Linked DNA regions of Homo sapiens: regions 2, 3, 4, 5, 6 and 7 are each linked to region 1. The links are contacts of gene promoters, found by promoter capture Hi-C in blood cells and fetal thymus (Javierre and others, 2016). All regions are on one chromosome and are shown on one strand. Each heading gives the region's core, a stretch centred on a gene start or on the middle of the fragment in contact. The rest is flanking DNA. Distances are from core to core; before and after follow the strand shown.

What was found. The method cuts DNA at HindIII sites, captures the fragments that hold promoters and counts their contacts. A CHiCAGO score of 5 or more calls a contact.
Region 2: a contact is called between the fragment with the promoter of TNFRSF25 here and the fragment with the promoter of RPL22 in region 1, in 10 of 17 cell types (activated CD4 T cells, naive CD4 T cells, erythroblasts and 7 more). The highest score is 11.3, in activated CD4 T cells.
Region 3: a contact is called between a fragment that was not itself captured here and the fragment with the promoter of RPL22 in region 1, in 1 of 17 cell types (total B cells). The highest score is 5.1, in total B cells.
Region 4: a fragment that was not itself captured here is called in contact with the fragment with the promoter of RPL22 in region 1 in 2 of 17 cell types (total CD8 T cells and activated CD4 T cells); the score reaches 6.5 in total CD8 T cells.
Region 5: a fragment that was not itself captured here is called in contact with the fragment with the promoter of RPL22 in region 1 in 1 of 17 cell types (fetal thymus); the score reaches 5.9 in fetal thymus.
Region 6: a fragment that was not itself captured here is called in contact with the fragment with the promoter of RPL22 in region 1 in 2 of 17 cell types (activated CD4 T cells and M1 macrophages); the score reaches 5.7 in activated CD4 T cells.
Region 7: a fragment that was not itself captured here is called in contact with the fragment with the promoter of RPL22 in region 1 in 1 of 17 cell types (activated CD4 T cells); the score reaches 6.2 in activated CD4 T cells.

Annotation. Positions count from the first base shown.
Region 1 is chr1:6,198,022-6,201,683 of GRCh38, forward strand. RPL22 (ribosomal protein L22) reads right to left here and starts at 1,574. Exons shown (of 4, transcript NM_000983.4): 1 at 1,541-1,574. The coding sequence starts at 1,552. RefSeq lists a silencer at 1,326-1,465. The HindIII fragment of the contact is 15,793 bases long and covers 454-3,662 here.
Region 2 is chr1:6,464,248-6,467,975 of GRCh38, forward strand. It overlaps TNFRSF25 (TNF receptor superfamily member 25), which reads right to left and starts at 1,926. Exons shown (of 10, transcript NM_003790.3): 1 at 1,822-1,926; 2 at 1,193-1,313; 3 at 841-975; 4 at 305-472; 5 at 128-206. The coding sequence starts at 1,860. It overlaps PLEKHG5 (pleckstrin homology and RhoGEF domain containing G5), which reads right to left. Exons shown (of 21, transcript NM_020631.6): 20 at 3,578-3,728; 21 at 2,875-3,325. The coding sequence ends at 3,316. RefSeq lists an enhancer at 1,747-2,695. The HindIII fragment of the contact is 14,059 bases long and covers 1-3,728 here.
Region 3 is chr1:5,942,000-5,945,827 of GRCh38, forward strand. The region is part of intron 9 of NPHP4 (nephrocystin 4); the gene reads right to left. Among named protein-coding and RNA genes, the nearest start is that of NPHP4, 49 kb to the right of the region's middle. RefSeq lists an enhancer at 1,967-2,467. The HindIII fragment of the contact is 5,858 bases long and covers 1-3,828 here.
Region 4 is chr1:6,668,389-6,672,151 of GRCh38, forward strand. All of the region lies in intron 3 of DNAJC11 (DnaJ heat shock protein family (Hsp40) member C11), which reads right to left. Among named protein-coding and RNA genes, the nearest start is that of DNAJC11, 32 kb to the right of the region's middle. The HindIII fragment of the contact is 409 bases long and covers 1,841-2,249 here.
Region 5 is chr1:6,491,107-6,494,794 of GRCh38, forward strand. It overlaps PLEKHG5 (pleckstrin homology and RhoGEF domain containing G5), which reads right to left and starts at 561. Exons shown (of 21, transcript NM_020631.6): 1 at 531-561. The HindIII fragment of the contact is 2,289 bases long and covers 179-2,467 here.
Region 6 is chr1:6,587,061-6,590,916 of GRCh38, forward strand. It overlaps ZBTB48 (zinc finger and BTB domain containing 48), which reads left to right. Exons shown (of 11, transcript NM_005341.4): 6 at 145-231; 7 at 418-572; 8 at 1,000-1,136; 9 at 1,218-1,382; 10 at 1,696-1,784; 11 at 1,856-2,220. The coding sequence ends at 2,152. It overlaps KLHL21 (kelch like family member 21), which reads right to left. Exons shown (of 4, transcript NM_014851.4): 4 at 3,664-3,856. Among named protein-coding and RNA genes, the nearest start is that of ZBTB48, 9.0 kb to the left of the region's middle. The HindIII fragment of the contact is 2,081 bases long and covers 471-2,551 here.
Region 7 is chr1:6,535,188-6,538,682 of GRCh38, forward strand. The region is part of intron 6 of NOL9 (nucleolar protein 9); the gene reads right to left. Among named protein-coding and RNA genes, the nearest start is that of NOL9, 18 kb to the right of the region's middle. The HindIII fragment of the contact is 844 bases long and covers 1,273-2,116 here.

The DNA of each region.
Region 1 (3,662 bases), core at 324-2,823:
TCCAGTCTCCCCAATCTCTACAGGCATGAAGGTCTCTTAGTTTATGAACCACAATAAAATGAACACTTCCTTTTGTTTGCCCTAACATTCCCAATTTCAAAAAAATACTATTTTTCCAAAATTAGAGTGCAGGCATACAAAATGCCTTGCATACCCACAATTTTCATATGAAATCAATCCTTGTCCTACATGTTCAGAGTAGGGTCCTGATCCGTCTTAGCTCATCTCCCTTAATCCTGTCTCATCCACCTTCTCATGAAGGGAGTTGCAAAGTATTCTAGGTGCCTGTCCACTCCAGCTTGGACAAGGTTAAGGCTAAAACCTAGAATCTTATTACAACACTACCGTCAAGAACTTCTGACATTTTGATTCGCTTCATCTATGCATTAGTACTTCCAAACCACCCGGCAAAGCACATCCTACAAGGTTCCAGTTTCTTCACTCTTACGAAGAAGCTTGTGTTAATCTTATCTCTCTACAAACTTGACACCATTAATGCACTTGTGCATCGTACCAACCTGTACTTTCACGTTTAAAAGCTCTGCAGAACTAAATAGACTTTTCCAAAAACACATCTTACCTCCCTTCATGTTTAAAAGAACTTCATCTAAAACTTGTGTTAACTGGATCAACTTTTCAAACATTTGGCCACTACAAAAATCACTGATTTATTTTTTACAACGTCTCTTCGCAGTAATAATCTAAGAGGGGTACTTTAAGATCTATTCCGAACACACACAATCAATCAAGAGACCTACCCACAACGGGCTTGATACTTCTCCATCAAGGTTTTAAACCAAAAGGCATTCAAAAGCCCAACCAGACAGAAAGAGCAGAAGAACCGGAAATGTTAACCAGGGAGTCCCAACAAAAGAGGAAAAGTAGGATCTTGGGACGAAGAACACGGAAAAACAACTTTCTCAAATAACCTAGGAGGAGGGCGCCGCACAGCCCAGTCCCAGCATAGCTAAAGGAGAATGCAATGAGAGCCTTCTCCCTACACCACTGCAACACCCGTTTGGGTCTGTACAGTGCGCCCTGATAAACTAATTTCCTCTGGGGACGCTAAAAAGCTCCTCAAACCCAGGCCTCCTCTCCGAAAGCACGCCGACCAAGCCGCCCTTCCGCGGATTCGTCCCCGAGTCTTGGCCGTGGACTTCCGAATGCGCGGCTCCCCAGGGTAGCAGGTCCCGTTCTTCTTCCCCGCCCTCCACCCAGGTAATCAGGCCCCCGGCCGGGGTCCGAGGACCAGTGGCCGGCCCAGACCGCAGTCTCCAGGCTCCAGCTCCCCGCTAGCCCCTAGCTGGGGCCCCGGGCCTCCGAGACCTCCCGGATCTCCCTCACGAGCCTCGGGCCGCGGCCTCCTCCGCCTACAACGTGCTGGGATCGGCAGGGGCTCTGGCCCGCTCCGGCCGACCTGCCAGCCCACCCCAGCAGGACGCTGCAGGGCGCCGTCCCCAGCGAGCCTGGGTAGATGCCGGGCTCGGCGAGGCCCACGTGCCTCCCCTGGAGCCGAGGCCTCACGCGGAGCCATACTAACCACAGGAGCCATGGCGGCAGCGGAGTTAGAAAGGGAGGTGAGCGAACTACGCAGACGCAAAGAGCCCGCAGCGCGCAAGGCACGCAGGGTCCAGGCCGCACTAATCACTTTGCCACGCCCCTCGTCCGCCACCTTTTCTCTTGGTTATGTACGATAGGGGAGCGATTGGTTTTTCCTGAATGCAAAACGCGTCCTCTCCCAGGCCTGGAGGGTTTCTGGGGAAGGAAGGAGGCCCGGCGGGCTGTCCCACTGCGAACGATCGGAGGGGGGAAGCCAGACTGGACGAGCCCAAAGATAAATAAAGGGGTTGGCTTTACTTTTTGAAAGTCTTGGGAAGAAAAAAGAAATAAGGAAATTCACTATACTGTAAATTACCAGCTAGTGGGATGGAAATCGAATCTACTAATTTGGGGAAGTGGGAAAATTCCTTGTAGCCACCGGGAAATTTCGTTCAGAGGTCCCAATGCCAGACCACTATGGCTTCCTCAAAAAGCCCCAGCTTGGAAGCTCATGCCCAGGGGCTGTCTCCCAGTGCCTGTCCTTTTTGCTGTAGCCAGGCCGCCCCCTCGCTGATCACCACTCCCTAGTTTCCCAGCCCAAGCCTTCTAGTTTCCCATCCCAAACCAGTAAGTAGTTGAGGACCACCAGGAGATCTGGAAAATGCAGATTCCAATTCCAGCGGTCTCAGTGGCCTGAAATTCTGCATTTCTCACAAGCTCTCAGACGATGCTGATGCTGCGAGTCCATGGACCGCATGTGGAGAAGCAAAGGTCCTCATCCCCAGGCCCACAGGTCCCTTGAACTGGGCTACTTTGCACCCAGTCACCCGCTGCGTCCTCACGGAATTATATTCCAGGATCCTGAATTGTAAATCACTCAGTGGCACACACACTCTCCACTCCCTTTACCTGGCTTCAGTGTACTCACCTAGCAAAAGTCCAATCACCAGAAGAGACTGTGCTGATGGGTCTAGCTTTCAACTCAGGCCTCAAGCCGGTTGACCAAGCTCCAAAGCCAGCTGCTGTTCTTGGCTCTATAATGATCAGGCTGGGCCTCTGCAAACACTTCTGCTTTCCAGCTGATCCCGGTTTGGCTCTATCAATAGGGGGCTTTGCTTCCTGCTTGCTCCTGTCCTGTCTGGTGTCATCCACTCTTGCTTCTTTATCCTGGAGGTGGCAGTTGGAACATTCTGGAAGCAGCAGTGGAATCCAGTCTGCACTTATTCCAACATTTGCAGAACCAGCCTCGTTTTCTCCTCAGAGACACCAGCCCTAGCAGAGCAGCACCCTCTCCTCAGATGTCTGAGTTTCACCTCCCTGTGCCCCTCCTCAAGCATCTACATTTTAATAATACCACCTACCAGTGGTAGCTACTTCCTGCAGTTGCTACTGTTAGTATTATACCCCGACAGTTACCTAAACACATCTTTATACCTAGTTAACAATCCTTTATATTAAATTCTCTCAGTTAAAAACTATAATGTGTTGTCTTTTGACTGGACCCTGGCTGATAACGGACCCTAAGCGAGCCCTCAGGGCTACTGACAATCCTAAATCTCTCCCCCAAGGGACTATTTCCCTTTCTTGTTGTTTTTAATAGAGACAGGGTCTTGCTCTGTCACCAAGGCTGGAGTGCAGTGGTGTGATCATAGCTTACTGCAGCCTCAAACTCCTGGGCTCAAGTGATCCTCCCACCTTGGCCTCCCAAATTGCTGGGATTACAGGCATAAGGCACTGCACCTGGCCCAAAAGACTATTTCACACCTCAGTCATAATGCCAGCCCCTTCTTCCTAAACCTCCCTCTCAGCAGTTGACTTTTATTGTTCTTTCCTTTTTCTTTCTTTTTTTTTTTTTTTTTTCTGAGACAGGCTCTCGCTCTGTTGCCCAGGCTGGAGTGCAGTGGTGCGAATACGGCTCACTGAAGCCTTGACATCCTAGGCTCCAGCAATCCTCCCACCTCAGCCTCCTGAGTAGCTAGGACCACAGGTGTGCACCACCATGCCCAGCTGCATGTTTTTTTGTTTTGTTTTGTTTTGCTGTTGTAGAGAGTTGGTGTCTCACTATGGCTATGTTGCCCAGGCTGATCTAGAACTCCTGGGCTAAAGCAATCTTCCTGCCTCAG
Region 2 (3,728 bases), core at 676-3,175, 270 kb after region 1:
ACAGGGCCAAGGCTCCCTCCTCCCTATCCCCTCTTCCTATTCCTGAACCAGCAGCACCTGCCCCACCCCAGGCCCCTGCTCTGCTCCCAGCCGCCCTTCCCTCCATCCCACGACAGCTAGGAATTACGTGGGGCAGGACACGCAGCCATCGCCATGTTCATAGAAGCCAGGCAGGCAGGTCCCACAGTCAGTATCTCTGCGGGAACCTGCAATCCAGGAGAGGCATGCGTCACCATGGGACAGGAGTGGGTCAGGCAGGGAGAAGGGGGTCTGGGAGTAGAGAGCCCTGGGTGGGGGTACTCACAGAGTAGCCGTGTGTGGCGGTGCAGGGCCCCGCAGTCTAGGCATGGTTGGCAGTAGAAGGGTGAACTGCTGACACATTGGCTGACCTGGCACTCCACAAACCAGCCTGGCTTACAGCCACAGCGGGTGTCGGCCACTGCTGAACAGTTCTCCAGCGCCACCTGGGAGGCTGGTGGGGGTGCAGGGAGATGGGGAGTGGAGAGTTAGTCAGGGCCAAAGGCTCCCATGGAGAGGCAGAGGCATTATCCCAAGATAATGGAGACAGAAATAGGCGAAAGACAGACAGGTACAGGGCTACCCTAAAAAAGAGAGAAGCTCAGAGATTAAGGCCGACCAGAGGCCAAGGCACATGGAGAGATGGGAAGGTCACCAGGAAGAGAGAAGGGGCAAGGGCACCCTGAAGGAGGATCAGGGTGGAGGGTTCTGGCAAGGGTGGGTGCAGGACCCTCACACCCCAAGTTTGGGCCCGAGCCAGCCACTTCCTTCAGAAAGGCCTGTCCTTAGGAACTCCCTGCCAAGCACTGAGAAGCCCCTCACCCTGCTCATCACAGGCCTGGCAGCGGGCACATTCAGAATTATGGTGGTTCTCCCAGGCCAAGAAGGTGTCTTGGGGACACACAAGGCAGGTGGAGTTGCCGCAGGGCTCCGTGCAAGGGGCCTTCAGGTAGTGCCCTGTGGAACCAGGCAGGGGTCAGGCAGGCAGAGGGGCTGCCCAGCAACCCCCGACCTGCTTCCCACCCTGCCCTCCCTCCCTCTTTCTCTCCAGCTCCCTACTTCTCTGTCAGCCTACCCCTACCTCCCCTGCCAGCCTCCTCTTACCTCCCGGGCCTGCCCGCCACCTCTCCAGCCCTGCCTGCCCCATGCCTCTCCCACCCCTGTGGCCACTTACCCGCTGGGCAGCCTCTGCAACAAAACAGACCAATCTTCTTGTGGAAGTCACCGGCACAGTCACACCTGGGGCTACGAGTGCCGCCCTGGGCCCGGGCCCCCAGCAGCACCAGGAGGAGCGCCTGGGGGACAGGTGCTGCTGACTCTCAGCGCAGCTGCCCACGTGGGGCCTCTCCCTGCTGCGTCTCCTCCATTTCAGAGGCCCCAGCATTTGCCCACAGAGCAGCCCACTTCCCAGGCCCCGGGCAGAAGGGGTGCCCATGGGTGGAGAGGAAACTAACTTCCTTCCCCCCGCGCACACACCAGGCTTCGGAGGGGGCGCTTACCAGCCCCTCACAAGTTTCCCCTCCACCAGAGCAGGAATCCAGCAGCGCCCCCACCCCCACCCATGCTTTCTGTTGGGGGAGGGACACTGATAATGCTCTGCCTGGGGCCCCCAGACCCTCCTGGGAGGGGTTTCCTCTCAGTGGAAGGGCTACGCCCTGGAGGAGCCTTTAACGAGATCGGAAAGGGCGGCCAACCCAGCCCCCAGTGAGGCTTGGAGTGGAGACGCGCCCGGGGCCCCTTCCTTCACCGAGGCTCTTGGGACAGGGCTCAAAGCTGCCCCTAGCCTCCTGCGTCTCAACTCACCGCCGCCACCGCCGCGCAGCCCCGCGGCCGCTGCTCCATAGCCCTCCGACGGGCGCCCAGGGGCTTCCCGGCTCCGTGCTCTCTGCCCGTCGTGGTTCCGCCTTCAGCCCCGCGCCCGCAGGGCCCGCCCCGCGCCGTCGAGAAGGGCCCGCCTGGCGGGCGGGGGGAGGCGGGGCCGCCCGAGCCCAACCGAGTCCGACCAGGTGCCCCCTCTGCTCGGCCTAGACCTGAGCTCATTAGGCGGCAGCGGACAGGCCAAGTAGAACACGCGAAGCGCTGGGCTGCCTGCTGCGACCAGGGGCACAGGATAGAGCTGCATCTCGGTCCCCACCCCGACTCTCGCCCCAACCCTGAGAACCACTTCAAGGTAGAGCCAGGGCAAGTGACTTCTCTCTCGGCCTCCGCGTCCCCAGCCATGGAGGAGGTTGGGCCAAAAGTACCGCAAGGGGCCAAGCGCAGTAGCTCAGGCCTGTAATTCTAGCACTATGGGAGGCAGAGGCGGGCGGAACACTTGGGGTCAGGAGTTCGAGACCAGCCTGACCAATATGGTGAAATGCCGTCTCTACTTAAAATACAAAAACTAGCCCGGCGTGGTGGTGCACACCTGCAGTTCCAGCTACTAGAGTGGCTGGGGCAGGAGAATCGTTTGAACCCGGGAGGCAGAGGTTGCAGTGAGCCGACATCACACCACTGCACTCCAACCTAGGTGACAGAGTGAGACTCTGTATTAAAAAAAAAAAAAAAGTTCCTGAAGGGACCCCCATGGAGGACCCACCTTCCCAAGAGGGCTGGCCTGAGTGTGGGAACTGGGCAGATTCAGCCCTGAATCCCCGGGGGGCACCTGGGGAGAGGCTCTGATGGTGGCTGAAGGTGGGGAAGTCTGGGGGTGTTGGTCTGGTGGCACCCCACACCCCATTACTTCCCAGTGCTTCCCATGGCAAGCTCCATCCGTGGCCCATCCGTGGCAAGTGGAGGAGCACAGGAACACAAGGAGGCCGCCCTGAACTCAAGTGCCCCGAGTCACTGGGCCCCAAAGCAAAGGACTCTTCCCAGTGGAGTCTAGACAAGTCTTTATAAAAGAACCAAAAGCTCAATAAATACGTAACTTCACAGAACCCAGCCCAAGCCAGGGGTGGCCTGTGGGACTGGGAAGGTGGGGGCAGGGCAGGAGTGAATCCCACTGGAGGCCAGTGAGGGTAGAAGTAGGATGGGCAGCCTAGGAGCCCAGCCCTGAAGACTCGAGCTGAGCTGGTAACTTCGGGGAGTAGGTGACGAGGGGCTGCCTGGGCAGGTGGGGTGGTACTGTGGCCTGGGCCTCCTCCACTCCATCCAGTCCGGCAAAGCGCAAATCGGGCCCGGGCGTAGGCAGGGATCCTGCCCAGCATCCGGCTCATGCATACAGGAGGCAGTAGCTGAAGCAGGTGCCGGCACGCCCCAGGAGGCAGGCTGTCTGCTGTCTCTTGGTCAATGGCACTCTTGGGGGCCTCCCTCTGCTCAGACCTCCCTACAGGGTGGGGAGGGGACAGAGTCCTTCTTTGGCTGACGCCATTCAGAGTGGCTCTGGTCACCCTCTCTTCCCCACGGCACTCCTCAGGCCCCTTCACTGCTGCCCACCACAGCCCCCTGCGCCCAGACACTGGGCAGGGTTCAGGCTCCCTCCGCCATGACCCTCCCCAAATGCGATGCTCCCAGGCATGAGTGGGCCCCCATGCCAGTGCCCTGAGCCACCTGCCCTACCCCAGTCCAGGCCACTCACGAGGCAGTGAGCGTGGAGTTAAGCAGCAGGGTGGTCCTGATTCGGTAGAGCTGGGCCAGGGTCAGCTTCCTGTGCTGGGCAGAGACCCCTGGTGGGGGCTCAGGCTGGACCCTGGGAGAGGCCCCCGAGGGCAGGTCTCCACACCTCTTCC
Region 3 (3,828 bases), core at 224-2,723, 260 kb before region 1:
GTCTCCCCACAGATCACTTATTAGCTGCATGGAGGAAAAAAGGTAACTCTACAGTGGAGATATCAGCAAAGATCACCACAACCAACCTCGCCCAGGATGAACACATGCACGTCTGGATGTGGGACCCAAGGACTGCCCCTTGCTCACACGGACCACTACCAGGAAGGCACAACCTGACTCCAACTATGAGGAAGCATCAGATGAACCCAAGCAACATACGCATTAAAAATTTTTTAAAGAAGGGAGACTAGGCCATGCACAGTGGCTCATGCCTGTAATCCCAGCACTTTGGAAGGCCAAGGCGGGTGGATCACAAGGTCAGGATATCGAGACCATCCTGGCTAACATGGTAAAACCCCATCTCTACTAAAAATACAAAAAATTAGCCGGGCGTGGTGGCAGGCACCTGTAGTCCCAGCTACTCAGGAGGCTGAGGCAGGAGAATCGCTTGAACTCAGGAGGCGGAGGTTGCAGTGAGCCGAGGTCGCGCCACTGCACTCCAGCCTGGGCAACAGAGCGAGACTCCATCTCAAAAAAAAAAAAAAAAAAAAAGGAGACTAAAATATTAAAAATAAAATCATAAATGACAAAAAAAAAAAAAAAAAGCTGAGGAACTGTTCCAGAATTAAGGAGGTCAAAGAGACACAGAAACCAGACACAAGACATGATCCTGAACTGGACACGGTACTGGAGGAAAGGCCATCAGGGACACACATGGATCAGTTCAACAGACCCTGGAACATGGGCCATTGATTTTGTTCCAAGAATATGAGTTAATACATAAACAATAAATCAGGCAAATCTTCACCCCTTAGAGATTTGGGGAGAGGGTTATTTTGTCATGTGACCCACAGAAAAGGACTGTATTCACCCCCAGAGGCTCAGGAGGATGCCCGCTTATTCAGACATGAAACGCAGCCAAGACACCGGATCTGGTGATTTTTGCAGGTTTGCCCCTGTTGCATTTCATGCTCATGTTACAGGGAGTTTGCTCCATCACTCATTCAGTCAGCAAACATTTCTGGAGCCCACACTTGCATGCATAAGACATTTCAAAAGAGGCAGTGCTGTGGCAGTCAAATGAGGTTGCACTGTCCCCAGGATCCTGGGAAGAAAGTGGTCTGGACAGGAGGGACTACTTCTTTGGTAGTTTCTTTAGCTTCTTCACAGCTAACCCAAACATAAATTACAGGAAAAAGGTTTTAGATGCTTTGGTTAACTAAAAAATGCAAAAAAATTAACAGCAGATTAAAGTCAGTGAGTGTGTCTTGGCAAAACTTTTGTTCCTAGTTTGTTTCCAATGACTACAAAATACTCAGGACCCAAAGAATACATGCAGACTCCAGTGCCTGGGTGTGCCCTGAACACAGTATTTGTTCCATGTTCTCATCAGCCCAGGTAGCCTCCTCGTCTGTGCATACCATTTACAGATGAATCCTTCCACAAAGGGCCCCTAGACACCATAGCTTTTGCCTCCTGATCTGATGCATGAGGCCAAGTGAAGCAGCTGCCAAAAGCCTGGTGCATTTTGGCTCTCCCAGCATTACGAATGTGTGATGAAGGCAGCAGGGCCACAGGGAGAGCAGATCCTCCAGTCAAAGGCAACATGAGGAAGCCACTGCCAGGGAACAACAGACAGGCCGCCCAGCTCATGCAGGAAGACGGCTGTCACAAGTCACTTTCCAGGGAAAAGCACATTGCTGGGGTTTGTCCGTTTCTTATTAAGTAAAATACTTAAAAAATGTACACCCAGGCTGACTGGATGTTTGATGATACTAAGAAATGCAGTCAAGGTTAGGTGTGATGATGGTGTTCACAGTGACACTCCAGAGCCCTGTCTTTTGGAGAGACATGGTGAGCCATCTGTAGATGAAAGGATGCAATGTCTAGGATGCGGTCTCCAATAGCCCAGGTGGAACGGGACGGGAGAAAGAGATGAGACATGAGCGATAAATTGGGGGTTGGAGGTGGGTGCAGGGAGCGCACCACATGCTTCTCCACTGTTAGCTTTGAAATTTCCCAAAATAAAAAAGTTTTTAAAAAAAAAAGAAATGTTCATGCCAAAAGGTTTACAGATGAAATAAAATGATGCCTGGAATTTGTTTCAGAATAATTCAAAACGGGTTGTGGGAGAGGACATAGAAGAAGCAGATTGTCCAGGAAGCTGGCAGCCGGGGAAGCTCCGTGGGGCCCATCGCACCAGCCAGCCTGTTTTCAGCTGTGCTTACAGCTTCCACCACGCAGGGTCCTCACCAAAGACAAGGAGGAGGACGCTGCAGCCGGAAGGCACAACCACACCCAGCTGAAAAAATCCCCACCCAGCTGAAGAAGGCTGCTCTGGGAGACACTGCTGCAGACGGGGTGGCTGAGGTGGGAGGGCCCTGCCACAGCCCGCCCTGGGCCTTCCAAGGAGCGCGCTGGGCTCCTCTACCACAGCCACCGTCACAGACGGCCCCGCCATTGTGCCTTTCTCCTCTCACGTCCCGCTCAATTCCAGTTTCACCCGGTGGATGCTTAACCCACTTCCAATGGTTCCGCACAGGAAGCAATTTTTGTGTGGAAGGTCATTTCACACACTGCAACATTTCCATTCCAGATTTCACCCAGGAAAGCGCACTTGATGACAGTAAAGTGGAATCCAGTATTCCCAGTTACAATCGACCAGCACATCGGAAAGTACCAATGACTGGCCGGGCGCGGTGGTTCACGTCTGGAACCTGAGCACTTTGGGAGGCCAAGGAGGGCAGATCACTTGAGGTCAGAAGTCTGAGACCTGCCTGGCCAACGTGGGAAAACCCCGTCTCTATTAAAAATACAAAAATTAGCTGGGCATGGTGGCCCGTGCCTATAGTCCCAGCTACTCAGGAGACTGAGGCAGGAGAGTCACTTGAACCCAGGAGGCGGAGGTTGCAGTGAGCCGAGATCGCGCCACTGAGGGGCGACAGAGTGAGACTCTGTCTCGAAAAGAGAAGAGAAGAGAAATCAGTGACTCCATAGCCTCACCCGCACCCGCACCCCAGACGCCCATGAAGCGGCCACCATCGAAACCACCTGTTGTCAGGAATTTCAGATGAGGGTTAAAAAAGAATAAAGTATCGCTAAGACATCTTGGTTTCAGCATACAGATGTCATAATCACAAGTAAATTACAATTAATATTCTCTAGAAGACACTGAGAGTGAGGCGCCAGCCCTCCTGCTCCTCCCCACCTCCCCCCACAGCCCCTGGGAACCACACATCAGCCATCAGGCGCTGCCAGGACACCCTGAGGCCATTTCTCCTCCGCTCACTCCCCAGCCTGGGCAGCCCCATCCCTCCCCATGAGCCACACCCACCCCAGAAGACCCCTCCCACCCAAGGGTATTCACAAACAGCTGTATTTTAGCTGAAATTTCTGGTCATAAGTAAAGAAAAGCAGAACTGGAACAGTTTCATTAAATGACTGTGACTGTGTCAGTCCACAGAACGCTTGGCACTTCTGGATTTCTGCACCTAATTAGGACTCGGAATCATAGGGACCGGAGGCATGGACACTGGCAAGGTCAACTCGCCGCTACCAGAAGAGATTAGAAACACCAAATGGCAGCTACACCCCGACACCCTGCTCTCCGGCCTGAGGCACACCCTAAGACCGTCCTCAGCACCTCATGCTCCTTCACAGGCTGTTCCTGAGAGAGCGGCCCAGTCGCGATGGCAGGCCAGATCGCCATGGAAGATGTCTTGTCAACCGTTTTTTGGTTTCTGATTTACTTGTTAAAATGATACAGAAGTACCCCGATCTGCAGTTTCAGTGACCCTCAGTCAACCTTGGTCTGAAAATATTAAACAG
Region 4 (3,763 bases), core at 795-3,294, 470 kb after region 1:
TCGGCCTCCGGAAGTGCTGGGATTACAGGCTTGAGCCACTGCGCCGGCCTACCTTAAATTTCATAGTGTAAATTTCCTAATGAATCTCAGATAACAAATGTTAAATATCAAGACGAAGGCAAGCTGGCTCTCCCTAGTGGTCTGAGACAATCGCTAGAGACTCCTTTTGAGCTTCTTGGACCAAGGATCTCGAGCTGTCGGGTCTAGGTGTTTTTATTCTGTTGTTGTAGAAACGGGGTCTTGCTATATTGCCCAGGTTGGCCTCAAACTCTTGGCCTCAAAGGATCCTCCCACATCAGCCTCCCAAAGTGCTGGGATTGCAGGCACGAGCCACCATGTCTGGTGGGTCTGAGTGTTTTCAGAATCATGGGACTCTTCTTCTTATAACAGTATATGAACCTTAGAATGTGGGCTGTCAGTTATAGGCTGGCGTAACAATACTCAGGTACCACACAGCAGACCTCATTAAACTCGGGGACGCAGAGTAATGTCGAGTCTGAGAAAATAAGGTATTCCGGCCTGGCGCGGTGGCTCACGCCTGTAATCCCAGCACTTTGGGAGGCAGAGGTGAGGGGATCACCTCAGGTCAGGAGTTCAAGACCAACCTGGCCAACATGGCGAAACACCATCTCTACTAAAAATACAAAAATTAGTCAGATGTGGTGGCAGGTGCCTGTAATCCCAGCTACTTGGGAGGCTGAGGCAGGAAAATTGCTTGAACCCAGGAGGTGAAGGTTGCAGTGAGCTGAGATCATGCCACTGCACTCCAACCTGGGTAACAGAGCAAGACTCTCTCTTAAAAAAAAAAAGAAAAAGAAAAAGGAAAATAAGGTATTCGAGGCCTAGCGCAGTGACTCACACCTGTAATCCCAGCACTTTGGGAGGCCGAGGCGGGTGGATCACCTGAGGTCAGGAGTTTGAGATCAGCCTGGCCAACATGGTGAAACCCTGTCTCTACTAAAAATACAAAACATTAGCTGGGCGTGGTGGCAGGTGCCTGTAATCCCAGCTACTTGGGAGGTTGAGGCAGAAGAATCACTTGAACCCGGCAGGCGGAGTTTGCAGTGAGCCAAGATCACGCCATTGCACTCCAGCCTGGGCAACATGAGCAAGAAACTCTGTCTTAGAAAAGAAAAGAAAAGAAAAGAAAAGAAAAGAAAAGAAAAGAAAAGAAAAGAAAAGAAAAGAAGGCATTTCAATTCCAGTTCAGCCCTTCTTAGCTCGTCATGAAAGGAAGACCATCTAGTTGACATTTCAAAGAAGTGGAAAGGCCACCGTGAAAGAGGCAACCGCACTGCACGATTTCTAAGGGTCCTGTTTATGGTGTGAAATTGTGTGCACCGGTGAGAAACACACAGTGTGGGAACAGGACAGAAACAGTGGTTACTCTTTTTCTATCACGACCAAAGTTATCAGATGGATGGGGGAGGGGGCAGGGGTATACGAAAGCAGATTCTGCCCATCCATGGGAGAAACACAGGGGAGTCTTGAGTTGCTGCTCACAGACTATCTAAAAAGGTGTGATGTGAGAAAAAGTTTCCTTGGAAATTTCACGTTTCAAAAAATAATTTTTTTTTTTTTTTGAGACGGAGTCTTGCTTTGTCGCCCAGGCTGGAGTGCGGTGGTGCGATCTCAGCTCACTGCAAGCTCCGCCTCCCTGGTTCACACCATTCTCCTGCTTCAGCCTCCCAAGTAGCTGGGACAACAGGTGTGCGGCACCACGCCTGGTTAATTTTTTTTTTGTATTTTTTAGTAGAGACGGGGTTTCACCATGTTAGCCAGGATGGTCTTGCTCTCCTGACCTCGTGATCCGCCCGCCCAGATTATTTTTTAAAATACAAGCTTATAGCAAAAAATCAATAGAACAGAAGGATAGGAAATAAAAAGTATGCGATTCCCCTTACCCATATTCCCTCTTCTCATGGGCTCACACTCATCTCACAGGCTCACACTCAATTTTTTTTGTATCTCTTCCTAAAAATTCTCTATGCATGCTTATGTACCTACGTATGTGCGCATATGCACGTGCACACACACATACACACATTCAATATAAATAAGATATTACAGGCTTTGTGCAACTTGATTTTATTTTTCAACAAATAAAAAAAAATACAAAAACGCATCCAAAAAATCCTAGGAACTCGTCCACTACTTTAAACATTAAAAATATTGAAAACATTTTCTTCTCTAATAACCCAATATAAATCAATAATTACTAAAAAGGGGGAAGTGGTTCTTTTTAAGGAAGCTTTAAAATAAAAAGATTGTTAAAATCATCCAAGAACAAACTAAAGGTCCTAAGTGGCATGACAGTGATTGCTCTGTGACCTCGCAAGGGCATTCTGGGTTCTATTTCGTGAACAAGATGCGTTCCCGCTGCCCAGGCTTAAAATCATCGAGGGTGCGTCACCTATCTACAGCACTCTCACTTGCCAATACCACCCATCCTGACATAGACAAAAGCAAGGTACAATTTTTCAAAGTTTCCATTATCTTCTCAATCTCATGTCAGCCCCTCCCTGCATCGAAAGAAAATAAAAATGAAAGAGCTTCAGGGAAATGTAGGTAATCAACTATTCCATTAAGTTTGAAGATCCAGAAAATATGCTTTAAAATACTTTAAAAATTATTCATGACTTTACAGCCCAATTCAGTGGACCTGACTGTGGAGCCACAGTTTCTCTGGACTCAGTGGATGGTGACCATCCCAAGGACAAGGAGGTCTAAGTGTGAGGCTGTCTGAATGCAGACAGTTCCTCTACATAGCTCAGAGGATGCAGGATGTTCCAATCTGGATAAAGAGATTTGATTTGACTTGATTTGATTTATTTATTTATTTGAGACAGAGTCTTGCTCAATTTATTTATTTGAGACAGAGTCTCGCTCTGTTGCCCAGGCTGGAGTGTAGTGGTGCGATCTCGGCTCACTGCAAGCTCCGCCTCCCGGGTTCACACCATTCTCCTGCCTTAGCCTCCTGAGTAGCTGGGACTACAGGCATCTGCCACCACGCCCGGCTAATTTTTTTTAGTAGAGACGGGGTTTCACCGTATTAGCCAGGATGGTCTTGATCTCCTGACCTCATGATCCGCCTGCCTTGGCCTCCCAAAGTGCTGGAATTAGAGGCGTGAGCCACTGCGCCTGGCCATTTTTTTTTTTTTGAGATGGAGTCTCACTCTGTCATCCAGGCTGGAGTGCAATGGTGCAATCTCAGCTCACTGCAAGCTCCGCCTCATGGGTTCATGCCATTCTTCTGCCTCAGTCTCCCGAGTAGCTGGGACTACAGGCATCCGCCACCACGCCCGGCTAATTTTTTTGTATTTTTAGTACAGACTGGGTTTCACAGTATTAGCCAGGATGGTCTTGTTCTCCTGACCTCGTGATCTGCCTGTCTTGGCCTCCCAAAGTGGCGTGAGCCACTGCGCCCAGCGATATTTTATTTTATTTTAATATTTTATTTTTTTGAGACAGAGTCTTGCTTTGTCACCTAGACTGGAGTGCAGCGATGCGATCTCAGCTCACTGCAACTTCCGCTTCCAGGGTTCAAGCAATTCTCCTGCCTCAGCCTCCCGAGTAGCTGGGATTACAGGCTTGTGCCACCATACCCAGCCAGTTTTTTTATCTTTAGTAGAGATGACATTTCACCATGTTGGCCAGGCTGGTCTTGAACTCCTGACCTCAAGTGATCCACCTGCCTTGACTTCCCAAAGTGTTGGGATTACAGGTGTGAGCCACTGCACCCGGCCTGGATAGAAATTTTATA
Region 5 (3,688 bases), core at 73-2,572, 290 kb after region 1:
TGGCCCAGGTGATATGGCCGGAAAAGGGTGCTGTTCTGCCATTTAGTGGTTCCCAGTTCCCCTCTCCCAGCAGCGGGAGTTTAGAATAACTCTGGGCTCAGGACTGGGAAGGGTGTGGATACAGGGGGCCCACTCGAGGAGGTGGAGTTCAGGTCCACCAACCTGTTCCGCACTTTCAAGCTTTTTATACAGCCTTCCCCCGACCCCTTCCCAGGCCAAAACCTCCAGACTGCCCCACACAACCCTTGGGGCTGGGCCTATACTAGGGCAGCTCCTGGCTGGGCCAGGGATCCCCACGTCTTCACCTGCTCCCCCAAAACTACTTAGCCAAAACCCAGGAGTCCCCTTGCATTGTTTCTCTGGCCCTGCCCGTTTCTTCAGCTGCAGATAGCCCCACCACCTCTCTCCGGGGACCAGTCACTTCCAGAGATGGCCCAAACCTGGCCATTCCCTGGGGCATCCTGGTCTGCCGCTGCTCACCCCCAAAGCATTGCCCAGGAGAATAGGTGATTGCCTCTCCCATTACTCACATCCTGCCCGTCCCTTCTCCATGGGGGCCTCAGGTCCACCCTTTCCTCTCCCTGGTCTTCATCTCACCACCCCTCCCTCCACACACGCATACCCTGACTCATCCCTGCCACCTCACAGGCCATTGTTAAGCTGCAAGGGAACTCTGAAGTCCTCCCATCCAACCTCCACTCCACACTGCAATCCCCTCTACGCTTCCCTTTCTGTCTCTTCTTGCATATGTCTAGTGATGGGGTGCTCACTACCTCCACTTCGGGGATAGCTCCAGCTGCTGGAAACTCTTTCCTGTAGTGTGCTGAACCCCACCTCCCTGTCAAGGCCTTTGGGAGCTGTGCAGAAAAATTCACCTCCCTTTCCTCCTGAGAGTTCTGAGGAAATGGGAGGCTCTGACAGAGAGGCCTGGTTTGAGTCCTGATCTTGCCTTGCTTGGCAAGTCATTTTACCTCGCCACTCTGCAGGGCCCTCTCTAGGAAACGGAGATGGGGTAGGCCCCACCGCAGCGGGGGAGGCGGCCAGATGAGGTTTCTGTGCCAGGCGCTAAGGCAGGGCCTGGCATACAGTACGTGCTGGATCAATGGCGGCTGCTGGAATCACTACCTCCTCCATGATAAACACCCTCACATGTGGTGCCCAATGTCCCCTGTGGCCCAGGGCCACAAGTGTCCTCCTCCATGCCCCCTTGTGACCTGGGACGCCCTGACTAGACCTCGAACAGTGCCCAGTGGAGCCCAGCAAGGAGCTGGGGAGTCCACACACTGTCCCGTGGCCACCTCACAGGAGGGCAGGGGGAACCCACAATATCATTAGTCTGCCTTGATCTCCCGGCCTTTCTCCATCTCCCCAAACTCACAGCTCCACCTGTGTGCAAGAAGCTGGGATGGAGCCTGGGGAGGTCTCAGATCCCAGGGCAGGTACGGAGGGCACACCCAAAGTCTAGAGGTGACTTTGTTACCCCCACTCCCAGGACACCTTGCACACCTACGCTGTGCTAGGCTCTATGCTAAGCATGTTATATATGGGCCTCTTTTAATCCTCGCTGCCGGGTTATTTTCCAGATGAGGAACCTGGGGTTCAGAGAAGTGTAGTGACTTCCCCAGGGTCGCACAGCTGGAAAAAAGTAGGTTTGATCCTGGAGCTCAGAGGTGTGGACTGCTCTACATATCTTCATCCTGGGGAGGGGCCATTTCTCTCCTGGGGTCTCCATGACACACAGTCCAGACCCCTCATCTGGACATGCAGGTGCTCCTAGTGCAGCCTGCCTCCCCCTCCTCCCGTCCCCTTCTCCCTGTGCCCCCTGGCCTCGCTTGCCCCTTATAGCCCCCAATGTCCCCCCCTGCTCACTCAGCTGTCCTCCATCTCAGTACCTCTTTAATCCTCAGGACTCCAGTTGCCTCCAGGAAGCCCATCCTGGTTAGCCCTCCTCCCAGTGGGAACTCCAGGGGCAGGAGGTAGGGGACAGATGGCAAATTCATCTCAGAAGCTCCAGCACCCAGGAGAGCCTCAAATAAAACATCAAGGGTGGGCCCAGAAGCCGAAGGGTCCAGCCCTGCCTGAAATTGGTCCTTTGCCAGGGCAGCCTGGGGGGAAGTTTGGCCAGCCAGGGTCACTTCCCTTCCTTCCTCCCAGCACAGCTAGAATGTCACCTCCAGGAGGGCATCCCCTTTGTTCTCTGGAGATCTCCTGGGCCTAGAACTGGGCCTGGCACCGACAGATGCTCAGAGCTGGTCTGGTAAATGAATAAATGAAGTCATCTCCTTCAAAACGCTAGTCACATCCTGGAGAGTAAGAATAGGGCTCTTGATCAGACAAGCCTCACGCAGGCCAGGCTCTGACGATCATGCTGTGTGATGTGGGCAAGTTCCTCTACCTCTCTGGGCCTCCGTTTCCTTACAAGTCATGTGGTCATAAGAATAACGCTGTTCTCCTGAGGGTCTCAAGAAGCTTCACTGAGACAAGCAGGAGGGCCTAACGCCCCGCCTGGCATGTAAACATGTTCGGTCAGCAATAATTGTTATTATTATTATTATTGGGTGTTTTTTGAGACAGAGTCTCGCTCTGTTGCCCAGGCTGGAGTGCAATTGCGTGATCTCAGCTCACTGCAACCTCCTTCTCCAGGGTCCAAGCGATTCTTCTGCCTCAGCCTCCTAAGTAGCTGGGATTACAGGTGTGTGCCACCATGTCCGGCTAATTATTTTTTATATTTTTGGTAGAGATGGGGTTTCACCATGTTGCCCAGACTAGTCTCGAACTCCTGACCTCAAGTGATCTGCCCACCTTGGCCTCCCAAAGTGCTGGGATTACAGGCATGAGCCCCTGCGCCTGGCCTGTTATTTTTGAGACAGGGTCTTGCTCTGTTGCCCAGGCTGCAGTGCAGTGGCACAATCACGGCTCACTGCAGCCTCAATGTCCCAGGCTCAAATGATCCTCCCACCTCACCCTCCCCAGTAGCTGGAATTACAGGTACCCACCACCACACCTGGCTAATTTTTTTTTTTTTTTTTTTTTTTTTTTTTTAGACGGAGTCTTGCTCTTGTTGCCCAGGCTGGAGTGCAATGGCATGATCTCAGTTCACTGCAACCTCTGCCTCCCAGGTTCAGGCAATTCTCCTGCCTCAGCCTCCCGAGTAGCTGGAATTACAGGCACCCACCACCATGCCCAGCTAATTTTTATATTTATAGTAGAGATGGGGTTTCGCCATGTTGGCCAGGCTGGTCTCGAACTCCTGAGCTCAGGCAATCTGCCCGCCTTGGCCTCCCAAAGTGCTGGGGTTACAGGTGTGAGCCACCACGCCAGGCCTTTTTTTTAATTTTAGTAGAGAGAGGTCTCCCTATATTGCCCAGGTTGGCCTCAAACTCCTGGGCTAAAGCAGTCCTCCTGCCTCAGCCTCTCACAGTGCTGGGATCGCAGGTATGAGCAACCACACCCAGCCAGTAGTGGTTATTATTATCATCATCGACAATGTTATTCTTTGTTTCTCTTACCAAATCTGAGTGCCCCGCACCTCCTCTCCACCACTGCCTCTCCCTTCCTGGACTGCCCTTGCCTCTGTTCTGTCTATCCATGTTTTCACATCCATTAAAGGCCCCCTCCTCCAGGATGCCCTCCCTGACTGGCTCTCTATGCCTCTGATAATTCAGGCATTTCTGCCCCTACAGTGAGT
Region 6 (3,856 bases), core at 261-2,760, 390 kb after region 1:
ACCATCCTTCACACCAGATCAGGGGTCCTCCCAGAATCATCTCACCGGGGCCTCCCTCTAGTTCCTGCCCTATAGCCCAAGGGTGGGTGGCAGGGTTTCATGGGTGCAGGCCGCCCTGGAGGTGACTGTGGGCCTCTTTTTCAGTGTTCCTCCTGCTCCCAGCAGTTCATGCAGAAGAAGGACTTGCAGAGCCACATGATCAAACTTCATGGAGCCCCCAAGCCCCATGCAGTAAGTGACAGGGAGGGCTGGGCATGCTTTGATGCTGGCATGAGCAAGAGTGAGCTGTGCCCAGAGTGGGCAGCCGGCCATGTACTTTCTGTTGTTCGGGGGGGTGCTTGTGGGTCTCCCAGGCAGCCCTTCCCTGCTCTCACCCTGGCCCTGGTCCCTCCCTCTGCCTGCCTGGTCTGCCTGCAGTGCCCCACCTGTGCCAAGTGCTTCCTGTCTCGGACAGAGCTGCAGCTGCATGAAGCTTTCAAGCACCGTGGTGAGAAGCTGTTTGTGTGTGAGGAGTGTGGGCACCGGGCCTCGAGCCGGAATGGCCTGCAGATGCACATCAAGGCCAAGCACAGGTGCGTGTCGCCCGTTCTCTCTTGGGGCCCAGTCCTGCTGCCAGCCCAGGCTTGCACCGGCAGGGAAGACAGAGTTTGCTGACTTTTACACAGATGAGTGTGCCCTTGGCCTCCACCCTGAATCTAGTGCCTACAGCCTCTCTGGGATAGTGGGACCTGAGGGGCAAGCAGCTATGCCAGGCAGAGAGGCTGGGGGCAGATGTTTCAGGCTCAGACAAGCCTCTGTGCCCCCGGGGCAGATTCTGAGCTTCCTTAGTTTCCTGTGACTCCTGCTCATAGATTGTCCTTCTGCTCTCGGGGTGGAGGTGGTGCCCCTTTCCTAGCACTGCCCAAGCCCTCTTTCCACCAGGCATGCTCCTAGCTGTAGCAGAGCAAGGGGGTCACTTCCCTTGGTGATGGCCTCTGCCCCATGTCCCCACCTTAACAGGAATGAGAGGCCACACGTATGTGAGTTCTGCAGCCACGCCTTCACCCAAAAGGCCAATCTCAACATGCACCTGCGCACACACACGGGTGAGAAGCCCTTCCAGTGCCACCTCTGTGGCAAGACCTTCCGAACCCAAGGTGAGGTACGCCCTGCCCCTCCCCTCGCCTCCCCATCCTGAGGCCAAGGCCACAGGCTGAGCTCTTGCCTTGTGCCTGCAGCCAGCCTGGACAAGCACAACCGCACCCACACCGGGGAAAGGCCCTTCAGTTGCGAGTTCTGTGAACAGCGCTTCACTGAGAAGGGGCCCCTCCTGAGGCACGTGGCCAGCCGCCATCAGGAGGGCCGGCCCCACTTCTGCCAGATATGCGGCAAGACCTTCAAAGGTACCTGGGCGGCCCTGGGAGAGCCATTTCCTGCTCATCCGAGTTGGAGGGTCTCTGAGGAGGAAACGCTCCTTTCTTGCCTGTGAACCTCTTTTGTGCCCCACATGGTTAGAGTTGAGAGTGGACCTGCTTTGAAGGCAGGGGTGTCCTGTGCAGTAGTGACCCTGGGTGGCACTGGAGAGCCTGGCAGGGCCTGTGCAGCACTTGTAAACCACTGGTCCCCTCCCTTGCTGCCTGTCCCAACCTCCTGCTGGGTTTCCTCGAGGGTCCCGGGGCTCCTGCATGATCCCCCACGGTGTTCTCCCTCTTGCAGCCGTGGAGCAACTGCGTGTGCACGTCAGACGGCACAAGGGGGTGAGGAAGTTTGAGTGCACCGAGTGTGGCTACAAGTTTACCCGACAGGTAGGCCAGGGCCTGGGCCCCTTCCCCTACCCTAGGATCCCCCAAAGTTCTGAGCTCACCCTCCCCGCCAGGCCCACCTGCGGAGGCACATGGAGATCCACGACCGGGTAGAGAACTACAACCCGCGGCAGCGCAAGCTCCGCAACCTGATCATCGAGGACGAGAAGATGGTGGTGGTGGCGCTGCAGCCGCCTGCAGAGCTGGAGGTGGGCTCGGCGGAGGTCATTGTGGAGTCCCTGGCCCAGGGCGGCCTGGCCTCCCAGCTCCCCGGCCAGAGACTGTGTGCAGAGGAGAGCTTCACCGGCCCAGGTGTCCTGGAGCCCTCCCTCATCATCACAGCTGCTGTCCCCGAGGACTGTGACACATAGCCCATTCTGGCCACCAGAGCCCACTTGGCCCCACCCCTCAATAAACCGTGTGGCTTTGGACTCTCGTATTTCAGCCTGACAGTCTGTTCCCGTGTCCTGGAGTTGGGGAAGTGCTGCCTTCCCACCCACGCCTTCAGGAGAGAGTAGTGCCCTGCCCGGTCCTATGTGGGCCTCAGCTCAGCTGGCAGCTTCCCCTCCTGTCAGGAAACCTCAGCTGAGCGAGGCTTGGATGGGGTTCCTTTGGGGGCCAAACCTCTGGCCTTGGCTGCTCTCCACATCTGTATTCTGTTCCTCATTACTGCAGGATTTTAGAGTGGGGAACGCTGGCCAGTTAGAGCACCAGTATTCCTATTTTAGAGCTGAGGTGATACCGGCTTCTGGAGATAGAATTCATTACTAAGCTTCTGGAGTTCAGTAGAGTGATCAGGGCCCACGGGGCTGGCCTTGTTGGGCAGAATCAAGGATTGGGCCCAGTTAGTGTAGCTGAGCACGCCTGGGGGTCTGAGGAGGGTGGGGCCCTTCCTTCAAGCAGCCTGGTCTGTGTCCAGGAGGCTTTGGTCCCCACGTTCTATAGCTGTGGGGTACTGTGTGGCAAGGAGCAAATGCACGTGGGCCTTAGAGCAGATTGCTGTTGTTTAAATTTCTTCCCAACTAAGTTGGCCCTGGGTAAGTTACTGACAGCTTCATTTCTCTACTGAAAATACAAAATTGCTGGGTGTGGTGGTGCATCAGGAGGCTGAGGCACGAGAATCCCTTGAACCCAGGAGGCGAAGGATGTAGGGAGCCGAGATTGCACCACTGCATTCCAACCTAGGCAACAGAATGAGACCTTGTCTTTAAAAAACAACAACAAAAAAAAGAGGCCCACTGTGGTCTCAACACTGCTCTCCTTCCCAGCCGAGACACTGGCCTCTCCCTCAGGTTCAGATGGACTCTGCAGATAGGAAAAACATCTTGAGCCAGACGGCTTGTGTGGATTCACAGCCTGGTTTGGGACTGTATTTGAAGGGCTCCACCTCCCCAGGTCCAAGGGCCATCTCATCGCAGATGGGAGTCTCATCACCACCTGTATGTACCGCAATCTCAAGAAGGGCTGTGGGAGCCGGGCCCGGGCAGAGGACCAACAGGCAAAGACCAGCTTTGGAGCAGGCAGGTTTCCTGGGCATCATCTGTTCCACAGCATTTACTTCTCAGGCCTCTCTCTTTAAATGGAGACAAGGTCTTCCCGTATTGCTCAGGGTGGTCTTGAACCCCTGGGCTCAAGTGATCCTCCCTCTTCAGCCTCCCAAAGCACTGGGATTGCAGGTGTGAGCCACCACACCCAGCCTCTGGGGCATGTCTTTTCCAACGCTTCATCACTTGCTACAATCTGAGATGAGAAAGGGCCTGGAAGGCTGTTTAAGACCCTCAGTGTGAACCCTGGGCTCCATGCTGCCTGTTCCCCTGACATCTGTCCTCAGCCCAAGAGTCCCAGAAGACAGTAGCAGGAGGACAAAGGCAATGACTCCAAATGGATAGGAAATACTTTTATTGCAAAAAGTACTGAAGGTACCCTAAAACCTTAAGCAGGATTCTGGACATGGAAGCCTACAGAATAGACAAAAATAAATATGTCAACCTGCCCGACCCTCTGGGGTGAACTGGATGTGGACACTGGAGGGAGGGCGTCCTTTATTACATACGCGTCTCTGAAGTCATATAAAT
Region 7 (3,495 bases), core at 445-2,944, 340 kb after region 1:
GGTTTAAATATGCAATATATGCTAGCTCTGTGCACTGAGGGGATCTAGAAACAATAACACACCAGAGGCAACAAGCGTGCACAGTACTGAAACTCTGGTTTCAATCTCTCTCCATGAAAAGGAGCCAGGGCTCTCTGGAAAAATAGCTCATTCCAAGGCTATGGAAGAGAAAGTGAAAGATGACCCCAGAACTTCCTGTTTTTCCTGAAAGTTAAGACAGTGCTCAAAAAAGGATGGAGCCATGGAGTAGCCAGGGTCAGTACAGCTGGAGAGCCCAGGCCAAGGGTGCAGTCAGGACCTAGGACGTAAGAGGAGCTCAGTAGACAGACAGGTCCTAGGAGGTGGCCGGCAGGGCAGAGCGGCTGCTTATACATAGGGATATTGTACACATAAATTAATGTGTTCAGAATAATGAGAGCCAAGTTTTCTTGTTTTTGTTTATTTTTAAGACAGGGTCAGCTGGGCATGGTGGCTTACACCTATAATTCTAGCACTTTGGGAGGCCAAGGCAGGTGGATCACCTGAGGTCGGGAGTTCGAGACCAGCCTGGCCAACATGGTGAAACCCCACCTCTACTAAAAATACAAAAAATTAGCCAGGCATGGTGGCGGGTGCCTGTAATCCCAGCTACTTGGGAGGCTGAGGCAGGTGAATTGCTTGAACCCAGGAGGCACAGGTTGCAGTGAGCCGAGATCGTGCTATTGCACTCCAGCCTGGGCAGCAAGAGCGAAACTCCATCTCAAAAAAAAAAAAAAAGTTGGAGGTATCACATTCTCTGACTTCAAAAGCAGTTATAATTAAAAGAGCATGGTCCAGACCGGGCTACAAAGTGAGACACTGCCTCTACAAATAATTGTTCAAAAATTAGCCAGGTGTGGGCCGGGTGCGGTAGCTCACGCCTGTAATCCTAGCACTTTAGGAGGCTGAGGCGGATGGATCACCAGGTCAGGAGATCGAGACCATCCTGGCTAAAGTGGTGAAACCCCATCTCTACTAAAAATGCAAAAAATTAGCCGGGCGTGGTGGCAGGCACCTGTGGTCCCAGCTACTCGGGAGGCTGAGGCAGGAGAATGGCGTGAACCCAGGAGGCGGAGCTTGCAGTGAGCCGAGATCACGCCACTGCACTCCTGCCTGGGTGACAGAGCGAGACTCCGTCTCAAATAAAATAAAATAAAATAAAATAAAAAAATAAAAGTTAGACAGGTGTGGTGGCTAATAATAGCTGTCATCCTACCTACTCAAAGTGAGGTAGGAGGATCCCTTCAGCCCAGAAGCTTGAGGTTGCAGTAAGCTATGATCACACCACTGTACTCCAGCCTCAGTGACAGACTGAGATCCTGTCTCAAAGGAAAAAATAAGGCCAGGTGCAGTGGCTCACACTTGTAATCTCAGGACTGTGGGAGGCTTAGGTGGGAGGATCACTTGAGCTCCGGAGTTTGAGAGCAGCTTGGGCAACATAGGGAGACCCTGTTTCTACAAAGTCTAAAAAAAATGGAGTTAGGCTTGGTGGTGCATACCTGTTTTCCCAGCTACCTGCAAGGCTAGCCTGAGCTCAGAAGGTGGAGGATGCAGTGAGCTGTGATTACGCCACTGTACTCCAGCCTGTGTGACAGAGCAAGACCCGGTCTCAATAAATAAATAAATATTTTTAAATTAATTTTTAAGTAAAACAGCATGGCAGGATCAGGCATGGTGGCTCTGCCATCTCCGTGCTTTGGGAAGCTAAGGCAGATCACCTGATTCCAGGAATCCAAGGCTGCGGTGAGCTATGATTGTGCTAATTAATGCACTCCAGCCTGGGTGACAGAGTGAGACACTGTCTCTCTCAAAAACCAAGCACGGTAATGGCATAAAAAAAGACATATCACCCAATGGAACAGCATAGAAAGCCTGGAAATAAACACTGCATTTACAGCCAATTGACTTCTGACAAAGGTGCTAATAACAAAACAAGGGGGAAGGACAGTCTTCAATAAATAAGGCCGGGAAATCTGGTTATCCACGGGGAGAAGAAGGATACTAGATATCCTTATCAAACACCATATACAAAAATCAACTCAAAATGGAATAAAGACTTAAGTATTAAGACCTGAAACTGTAAACCTACTAGAGGAAAAGCTTCATGACACTGGTCTAGGTAACAATTTTTTGGATATGACCCCGAAAACAAAGGTTAACAACAGACAAATGAGATGGCATCAAACTAAAAAGCTTCTGCATAACAAAGGAAAAAATTCCAAAGAGACAACCCTCAGAATGGGAGAAAACATCTGTAAATCATCCATCTGATAAAGAGTTAATATCCAAAATATGTAAGGAACACAAGAAACTCAACAGCAAGAAAACAAATAACCCAACTGAAAAATGGGTAAGGCACTTGTACTGACTTCAAAACTTACCGAAAAGCTATAGTAATTAAAACAATATGATACTGGGTCAAGGACAGACATGTACACTGATGAAACAGAAACGGAACCAGGAAATAAGCCCATACATATAAGATCAAACAATCTTCAAGATAGTCTTTTCAACAAATGGTGGTGGAAAATCTCAATATCTATATTCAAAAGAAAGAAGCTGGACCAATTCCTTACACTATATGAAAATATTAATTCAAAATGGATCAAAAACCTAAACTTAAGAGTAAAAACTGGGCTGGGTGCGGTGGCTCACACCTGTAATCCCAGCACTTTGGAGAGGCCGAGGCAGGTGGATCATGAGGTCAGGAGATTGAGACCATCCTGGCTAACACGGTGAAACCCCGTCTGCACTCCAGCCTGGGCGACAAAGCAAGACTCCATCTCAAAAAAAAAAAAAAAAAAAAAAAAGAGTAAAAACTGAACAAACAAATTCAGGCTGAAAAATTTAAAAATAAAAAAATTTAAAAAGTTAAAAACTATAAAGCTCTTACAAGAAAACATTAGAGACAATCATGATGACATTGGATTTAGTAATGATTTCAAGGATGTAACACCAAAAGCATAGGCAACAAGTGAAAAAATAGATACACTGAACTTCATCAAAATTAAGAACTGTGCATCAAAGGTTATTGTCAAGAAAGCAAAAAAACAACCTACAGAACAGGAGAAAACATTTGCAGATTGTACATCTCATAAAGGATTAATATAAAGAACTACTATTAATACGAAGAACTACTAAACTCAACAAAAAGTAACAATCCAATTCAAAAACATGCAGGCTGGGACCGGATGCCGTGGCTCACGCCTGTAATCCAGGCACTTTAGGAGGCCAAGCAGGTGGATCACCTGAGGTCAGGAGTTCGAGACCAGCCTGGCCAACATGGTGAAACCCCATCTCTACTAAAAATACAAAAATTAGCTGGGCATGGTGGCGGGCATCTATAATCCCAGCTACTCGGGAGGCTGAGGCAGGAGAATCACTTGAACCCAGGAAGCGGAGGTTGCAGTGAACTGAGATCACACTACTTCACTCCAGCCTCGGCACTCCGTCTCAAAAAGGAAAACAAACAGACAA